Regions from separate parts of the Homo sapiens genome. Here region 1 is linked to region 2. Evidence: promoter capture Hi-C in human tissues and cell types (Jung and others, 2019). All regions are on one chromosome and are shown on one strand. Each heading gives the region's core, a stretch centred on a gene start or on the middle of the fragment in contact. The rest is flanking DNA. Distances are from core to core; before and after follow the strand shown.

What was found. The method cuts DNA at HindIII sites, captures the fragments that hold promoters and counts their contacts. A contact is called where the count stands out against the background at its distance.
Region 1: a fragment that was not itself captured here is called in contact with the fragment with the promoter of KLLN in region 2 in 1 of the 25 tissues and cell types used here (aorta).

The regions. Positions count from the first base shown.
Region 1 is chr10:88,903,265-88,907,961 of GRCh38, forward strand. It overlaps STAMBPL1 (STAM binding protein like 1), which reads left to right. Exons shown (of 11, transcript NM_020799.4): 3 at 2,179-2,396. Among named protein-coding and RNA genes, the nearest start is that of STAMBPL1, 25 kb to the left of the region's middle. The HindIII fragment of the contact is 3,678 bases long and covers 1-3,616 here.
Region 2 is chr10:87,862,262-87,866,508 of GRCh38, forward strand. KLLN (killin, p53 regulated DNA replication inhibitor) reads right to left here and starts at 1,272. Exons shown (of 1, transcript NM_001126049.2): 1 at 1-1,272. The coding sequence starts at 226. MLDHR (mitochondrial lactate dehydrogenase regulator) reads left to right here and starts at 1,298. Exons shown (of 1, transcript NM_001433720.1): 1 at 1,298-1,393. The coding sequence starts at 1,298. The coding sequence ends at 1,393. PTEN (phosphatase and tensin homolog) reads left to right here and starts at 1,364. Exons shown (of 9, transcript NM_000314.8): 1 at 1,364-2,287. The coding sequence starts at 2,209. RefSeq lists enhancers at 1-88, 339-518 and silencers at 1,119-1,428, 1,519-1,658. The HindIII fragment of the contact is 9,209 bases long and covers 1-4,247 here.

The DNA.
Region 1 (4,697 bases), core at 528-3,027, 1.0 Mb after region 2:
AGAAGAGGAAAAATCAATCTAATTTTCATTTTCAGGGAAAAAAAACTAATTATAATCTCTTGTTGCTTCCTTCTCTCACTTCCGTCTGTCTTTTATTTGATATACCTATTAATCATCACTTATGTGGCAGGGAATATGCTACATTCTAGGGAACAGAGATAAATGGAAAATGATCCCTTTTAAAACCCCAAGGAGTTCATAAGGGATCAGATACACTTGTACAGAAATAATTATAACTCAGTGTGGACTAAGTAGTAGTAAAATATGAATACATTACTTTTATACATATGAGAGGCTGGAACCCCCTTTAGAGAACATTCTGATTTTCATAGATTTTTTTTCTAGTCATTTTTCTGATGTCATTGAAGCAATTATCTGTGTCAAATGACAATATTTTCTTTTGGTGCTGTTGAGTTCTATAGCCGAGTGTGGTTAGGGAAAAGTGGATGGATTGCTGTAGCTTTTGAGACATCTCAATTGAAAAGACTATATACTGAAGCCCGAGGCTCAAAGTTCAGAAACTCCAATTTCTGTCTCTGATGTGGGGAAGCCACGTAATAAAATGTACAAGGGACATGGTATGGTTCTTACTTAATGAAGCCTTGAGAAACAAGTTTATGGGTCTCTGGTTACATATTAAACCTTTAGGACCAAGAATCATTTCAGATCTCTGAGGTTCTATTGGCTATAAAATTACCACCAAAGTAGACCAGATGGCATTGGAAGAACTCCAGATATCTAATTCACTATACCCTGTCCCTGAAGGTTGGCTCGGTAATTCATGGCCAGACTAAAAGTATGCTTACCTTGACTTCTTTTATAGCTTTCTACAGACTTGAATGAAGTGCTCCACCCACACAGTAGTCAGACTTGCAACCTACCCTTAACTGACCAAGGCGGCCTTGAGAAGCTAAATTTGCTCTAGACTAACTCTGTTCTGGGAGCATCCAGCAATGGTAGAAGGGGTTGGTCTAAAGCCTTGCTTCTCAAACTGTACAGGCATAAGTACCTCTGGAAAGATGGATTAAAACATTGATTCTCCTGCCTAACTCCAGAGATCCTGACTATAGGTCTGAGGTGAGACCTGTTAGGAATTTGCATTTGTAAGAAACTCCCAGTTGATGCTGATGCTGCCAGTACATGGACCATGCTTTGAAACATGCTGGTCTAAAGCAGGGGTCAGCAAACTATGGTGTAAGGGCCAAACCACCCACTTGCTTTTATAAATAAACATTTAGGGGACACAGCCAGGGTCATTTTTATCCATATTGTTTATGGTGACTTTCATGCTGAGAGCTGAATTCAAGTTGCAATGGAAACCATATGGCTAGCAGAGCCTAAGATACTTGCTATGTGGCACTTAACAGAGAAAATTTCCTTTCTGAAGCACCGACTTTTTATTGAATAATTATTCTGAATTGCATATGTTCTATGCTTTACCAAAAGTGTATAGATGCTGTTTTTATTAATAAAATTCAAATTGCTATCACTGACATTTCTTAGTAACATATCATTATTTTCTTAGTCAAGGACTAATTTAACAGTGTACTTACTATTATATGGAGGTCTGAGATTCTTTTTATGTTAAAAAAAATGGGAGGGGCATTCTTATGCTTGAAAAGGCTTCTCCAGGACTTACTTGTGGGTTGTTTTTTTTTTAACTCAATGAAGATGCAGAGAAGCCCTGAAAATTTCTTACTAAACAACACTTATTCTGGAATAGAATTGAATCTTTATAGTAACTTGAATCCAAGTTACCTCCTTGGAGACCCTTCAGAGTAGACTGACATGAACCCTACAATGGCAGGAATTCATCTTATGACCTGCTTCAGATGATCCCAGATAGAAGCATGCACAGGGATATGAGGAGCAATGATATTTTACCTAAAATGACCTGAAACATTTGCATACCCTGAAACCTAAAGTGAGATCCCACTCCAATAAAACTGTATGTTTACCTTGGAGGTTTGTCTTTTTGTTGTATAAACCATGTATTTTTGTTGTATAAAGCATGTTTAAGCAAAAATGCTTTACTTTGATTATATCATTAACTTATGAAAAGATTTCCTTAGGTAATGGTGTTAGGTTCCTCATAAAGAACATATGTCCATAATATTAGTCATATCCTTTTCTTACTATAATCAACAGTTAATCAGAGATTTAAATTTTGCTTTGCAGAAAAAGTTAGCTGCTATGCCTGACCATACAGATGTTTCCCTAAGCCCAGAAGAGCGAGTCCGTGCCCTAAGCAAGCTTGGTTGTAATATCACCATCAGTGAAGACATCACTCCACGACGTTACTTTAGGTCTGGAGTAGAGATGGAGAGGATGGCGTCTGTGTATTTGGAAGAAGGAAATTTGGAAAATGCCTTTGTTCTTTATAATAAATTTATAACGTAAGTGTTTTAAAGGCCTCTGAAGTGAGAAAATTGGAAAAATATTTACATAGTTATTTTGATGTGGCAGTTTGGGTATCAGTAATGTTTTCATATTCAGACCAATTGCACAGTCTCTAGGAGCATTAAATGTTCAAGTTTTTAAATTACCAACTAATGTACTCACAGGCATCCCAACACCATCTCTGAGGCTTAGGGTCAGGGAGGGCAGGAGGCTCAGGGTTATCAGATTTCCTTTCCAAGGCCAGCATAGTAATCTATTTAATACATGTTTCACTCTTCTTAAATATAATTTATTTTTTCATGCGATTTTCCCCGACAGAAATGGAAGCTTTATGAGAGCAGGAACTACAGTGCAGCTCCATTTATAGCACCTAGAACATGCCATCAACATTTAAAAAATTTGATTTGGTGGGTTGAGTCTAGGGGACAAGTTGGGAGACACAGGAAAGATCTGATTCAGGTTCAGGGATAGGTTCAGGAAACTCATTCAAGTTTCATATAGCACTTATTATTTCTTTTTAAAAAACATTTTATTTGGCTATTAAGAACACTATGTACAAAAGAGCTGTCAAAATGTTGAGTAAAAGTGGCTACATCAAAACAGCCATGTCAGAGTATCATGTTTCCTATTAGACAGATATTTGTTAGTGACATATCCTAGTTTAAGAGTTAACAGAAATGGGACTTCGTCTTTCCTTACTATAAATCTGGTAACTTACTAGTTGAAAGGATGTCCTGTCATCAATAATTATATCTTCTAAGATGAACCTTCTTTTTTTTAATTGAAAGTCACATGCCGATTACTTTTGCTAGCTTATTATTTATTAATTTTATTTAAGTTGACAAATAAAAATTATATGTATTTGTGGTATGCAACATGTTTTGATACATATATGCTTATATTGTGGAATGACCAAGTCAAGACAATTAACATATTTATTACCTCACAGACCTTTTATTGAGACAGGGTCTCCCTGTTGCACAGGCTGAGTGCAGTGGCACAATCATAGCTCACTGCAGCCTCGACCTCCCTGGCTCAAGTGATCCTCCCACCTCAGCCTCCCGAGTAGCTGGGACTACAGGCATGTGTCACCATGCTCAGCTAATTTTTTATTTTTGTAGAGATGGGATCTTACTATGTTGCCCAGGCTGATCTCCAACTCCTGGATGCAAGTGATCCTCCTGCTTTGACCTCCCAAAGTCCTGGGATTATAGGCATGAGCTACTGTGCCAGACCCAAGCTGCATAATTATGCAATACATTGTTATTAAGTATAATCATCATATACACTGGACCTCCTGAACTTATTCCTCCTGTCTAACTGAAATTTTGTATCCTTTGACCAACATCTCACCCCCATCCTCAACTGCTGGAACTCTGATAGCTACCAGACTACTCTCTGCCCCCCTGTGAATTCAACTATTTTAGATTCCTTCTACATTGTAAGTGAGATCATGCAGTATTTGTGTTTCTGTGCCTGGCTTATTTCACATATAATATCACTAGCTTAGTCAGGGGCTTAGCCTGAGAACATTTAAGAAGTTGAAAGATACAATATTTTAAAAATTGCCTTCCATGATTCTACCGAGGGCAAAATTAAAGGCAGTTTACATGGTATGCAAAAATTGAGATCTGCATTTTATTCAAGTTACTGAACTTGAAAATTTAGAGAATGGTTGGCAACCTTCACCCTACCTGGGAAAATCACTTGTTTTTAGAAAGTTAAGTAATAAATATGAAATTAGAAGTTATTCTCCACCATTGATAGCCAAACTTTTCCAATAATTTTTGTTTCTGAATAAGTTACCAATTAATAATATTTCTTTTTCACCTTCTGCTCTGATCTTGCATATGTTCCTATGGAATTGTGAGCCTGGTGAAAAGGAAAAGGCCCCTATATCTCAGAATTACTGTGTAATCAAAATATTTGAATTCTCTTGTATTATTAGTTGTATGATAATTTGTAATTCACTTATTCTTCCTGGGCCTTAGTTCCTCATCTACAAATGAAAGATTTATGGGAGAAAATCTCTGAGGTCCCCTCTGCTCTAAATGTCTTTGAATTTATTCTATTTATAAAGGCTTAGATAGCTAACAACTTTTAAAGCTTCTTTAAGCCTTAATTTTCTCATTTAAAATGGGAATTATGCTAACATTTCTGTCTAACCTATAACCTTGTGATCAGATGAAATTAAATGATGAGTATATGTGTGTATGATTTGATTTACAGAATCAGTAAGTATAAGGCATATTGTTTGATCAGAAATAGCATTTACAGCTCATTATGATTTATCAAGG
Region 2 (4,247 bases), core at 22-2,521:
ATTTGGAAAGTTCCCCAACTAGGGACACACGTGACCTCCTTCGGAAAGTAGTTCCGACTGTGGCCCGTGTATCCTTCCACCTCCTTTTGAACCCTCCTAGGTCTCCTCGCCCCGCCCACTCGCTGGGCTGCAGCTTCCTACCGTTCCGTACTTTCCACTCAACCCGGTAACCCCAAACGTGCACGGTCCGGCCGGGGCGCGCGGAGCCTGGCCCCGGGCGATCCATCCTGCCGGGTTTTCACGGCGGCCAAGGGGGGGCGGGGCTAGGTGGTCTCTGAGAACCGAGCTTGACTCCGACGCCGCGAACCGACCTGGAGCCCGAGGGGAAAGATGCTCGACTCTCTTGGGGGCACCGGAGCGGGCGCAGGAGAGGCCTGCGGGGTGCGTCCCACTCACAGGGATCCTCTTTCAGTTCATTTAGATAGGTGCCCTTTGGGCCCTTGAAATTCAACGGCTATGTGTTCACGTTCAGCACGCTCGGCTGAGAGCTTTCATTTTTAGGGCAAACGAGCCGAGTTACCGGGGAAGCGAGAGGTGGGGCGCTGCAAGGGAGCCGGATGAGGTGATACACGCTGGCGACACAATAGCAGGTTGCTCTTTGTGCTAAGACTGACACCATGAGGACACAGATTTGGGGGAAGGGGGAATCTCTAGGCAAAGGCTGTTACAGTCAAATCTCTGCGAACGATTGTGATCCGACAGCGGTGCAAAAGGAAAGAGCGAATGCAGTCCACGCCGCGGAAATCTAGGGGTAGAGGCAAGGGGGGAGGGTATTCCCCTTGCAGGGACCGTCCCTGCATTTCCCTCTACACTGAGCAGCGTGGTCACCTGGTCCTTTTCACCTGTGCACAGGTAACCTCAGACTCGAGTCAGTGACACTGCTCAACGCACCCATCTCAGCTTTCATCATCAGTCCTCCACCCCCGCCCCACAACAGCCTACCCTGCCTCCGGCTGGGTTTCTGGGCAGAGGCCGAGGCTTAGCTCGTTATCCTCGCCTCGCGTTGCTGCAAAAGCCGCAGCAAGTGCAGCTGCAGGCTGGCGGCTGGGAACCGGCCCGAGCAAGCCCCAGGCAGCTACACTGGGCATGCTCAGTAGAGCCTGCGGCTTGGGGACTCTGCGCTCGCACCCAGAGCTACCGCTCTGCCCCCTCCTACCGCCCCCTGCCCTGCCCTGCCCTCCCCTCGCCCGGCGCGGTCCCGTCCGCCTCTCGCTCGCCTCCCGCCTCCCCTCGGTCTTCCGAGGCGCCCGGGCTCCCGGCGCGGCGGCGGAGGGGGCGGGCAGGCCGGCGGGCGGTGATGTGGCGGGACTCTTTATGCGCTGCGGCAGGATACGCGCTCGGCGCTGGGACGCGACTGCGCTCAGTTCTCTCCTCTCGGAAGCTGCAGCCATGATGGAAGTTTGAGAGTTGAGCCGCTGTGAGGCGAGGCCGGGCTCAGGCGAGGGAGATGAGAGACGGCGGCGGCCGCGGCCCGGAGCCCCTCTCAGCGCCTGTGAGCAGCCGCGGGGGCAGCGCCCTCGGGGAGCCGGCCGGCCTGCGGCGGCGGCAGCGGCGGCGTTTCTCGCCTCCTCTTCGTCTTTTCTAACCGTGCAGCCTCTTCCTCGGCTTCTCCTGAAAGGGAAGGTGGAAGCCGTGGGCTCGGGCGGGAGCCGGCTGAGGCGCGGCGGCGGCGGCGGCACCTCCCGCTCCTGGAGCGGGGGGGAGAAGCGGCGGCGGCGGCGGCCGCGGCGGCTGCAGCTCCAGGGAGGGGGTCTGAGTCGCCTGTCACCATTTCCAGGGCTGGGAACGCCGGAGAGTTGGTCTCTCCCCTTCTACTGCCTCCAACACGGCGGCGGCGGCGGCTGGCACATCCAGGGACCCGGGCCGGTTTTAAACCTCCCGTGCGCCGCCGCCGCACCCCCCGTGGCCCGGGCTCCGGAGGCCGCCGGCGGAGGCAGCCGTTCGGAGGATTATTCGTCTTCTCCCCATTCCGCTGCCGCCGCTGCCAGGCCTCTGGCTGCTGAGGAGAAGCAGGCCCAGTCGCTGCAACCATCCAGCAGCCGCCGCAGCAGCCATTACCCGGCTGCGGTCCAGAGCCAAGCGGCGGCAGAGCGAGGGGCATCAGCTACCGCCAAGTCCAGAGCCATTTCCATCCTGCAGAAGAAGCCCCGCCACCAGCAGCTTCTGCCATCTCTCTCCTCCTTTTTCTTCAGCCACAGGCTCCCAGACATGACAGCCATCATCAAAGAGATCGTTAGCAGAAACAAAAGGAGATATCAAGAGGATGGATTCGACTTAGACTTGACCTGTATCCATTTCTGCGGCTGCTCCTCTTTACCTTTCTGTCACTCTCTTAGAACGTGGGAGTAGACGGATGCGAAAATGTCCGTAGTTTGGGTGACTATAACATTTAACCCTGGTCAGGTTGCTAGGTCATATATTTTGTGTTTCCTTTCTGTGTATTCAACCTAGGGTGTGTTTGGCTAGACGGAACTCTTGCCTGGTTGCAAGTGTCAAGCCACCGATTGCTTTCTTAGGCTATCTATATGGTCTCTTCCTGAGGGCTATTGTCCGTTAATACAGAATACAGTACACTGTTAGTGGATTAGCGAGCTCGGTAATCCGGTCTCCTAAATGAACAAAAAAGTAGACGCTTTTTGAGGTTGAGCATATTTCGATTAAATCTTGGCTTAGGCCCTAGATCAAGGGTTTAGATCAGAATAAAATGAAAATTAGTGTTGCACGTACGCATATTGCATCAGAATCTTGCAGTGATTGTTTTAGTTTCCTGAGTTGCATTGATAGATTCTTTTAAAATATGACTGATTTGCATAACTTTAGAAGCAGAATCATTTTCAGTATATATGGTGCACATTGAGGGCAAAAAGTAGTTTTGTTAATGTTTAAACTTAAGTTACCTACAACTTTGAACTGTATGTAGAAGTTTTGTAGTTTGAAGTCAATAGTGCCATAATATACCTTATAAGGCGTTCTTACTAGATCTTTGTTATATTTACCTTTTTCTCTCCCTATGGGGTGATGTAGGATAGTGCTTGAAATTTGCACTTCAGTAGCATTTAATGTTCAGTGCTCTTGTCATAAACATAGAATGGATATTGAGTAGTTTCTGATCCCAGATGGTAATGTGTAGGTTCAAGGGTATTGTGTGTAGCAAGTGAAGATTGCAGAAATAAAACTTCAGTTCATGCTTGAAATTTAAGTATTGTTGTGATGCCAGAATTGCTGCTCACCGTTTTTAGGTTTCAGGTCCTCTGACACCTTTTGGTATCGTTAATTTTACTGATTTGTGTAGAATGTCAGTTGTATTTTACCAGCTAATATCTAGAAATGCTGGCAAGAGGGGTTTACTCCAGCTTTAGATTGTAGGTATGTTAGCTTTTTTCATACAGTGTATTAAATTTACTGAGTCAGCTTGCTGAATAAGACAGAAGCCCAAGAATTTTAACAGTGTGTAGCTTTAGTTGTCTAAAAGTTAGGCCTTCGGGCTTCAAAAGTTAGTGGTCATCGAAAAGCATTAATCTTTGCAGTTTCAGGTACAACACATTGGTTTTGATTAGGGATGGGGATGGGGCCCTCTTTTTGCAGAATGGGGAAAGTATTGACAGGAATTGAGAGCTATTGGTAGGCCAGTGTATAAGGTATGTGAAAACAGAATTAAGTTATTGGTCTGAAGTGACTGAAGCATTTAGGCTCTATCAAGGCCTAAAATTTGGTAATATGAGTTTGGTAATGCGAATTGTGGCAGTGGACAATATTTAGTTAAAATTATGTAATTGCATAAGTACTAGCACAGTATTTTTAATAAAAGTTATTTCTTAGCAAATGTCAGTTGCATTTTGTCTAAAGGTAGAGTGACACTACAGTGTCTATATGTCCTGCTAAAAATTGTGGGGAATATTTTTTTTTAAGACAGCGTTTATATCGGGAGAGGTTTTATTCCGTTGGATTATGTTAGCTGCATATAAATGTGCACAGTTAATTTTGCCCAAGTTTTTGTTTTGAAATGAATGTAAAACTTACTGAAGAAGTAGCTTCCCAAAATTTAGTTTTCTGTTAAGCCAAAAATATTATTTTAAAAGAGTATTTGCAAATTTTGAAGTTGACATTAATTGAGAATGTTACTAAGGCTAAACTGGACCCGCTTGCCCAGAAGATAATTATGGAAAAATTCTTTTGTGACTTCCAAAGCAGTCTACTATTAGCATGAATTACTGACAGTCATCCAAATATATAGGAACAAAAAATTA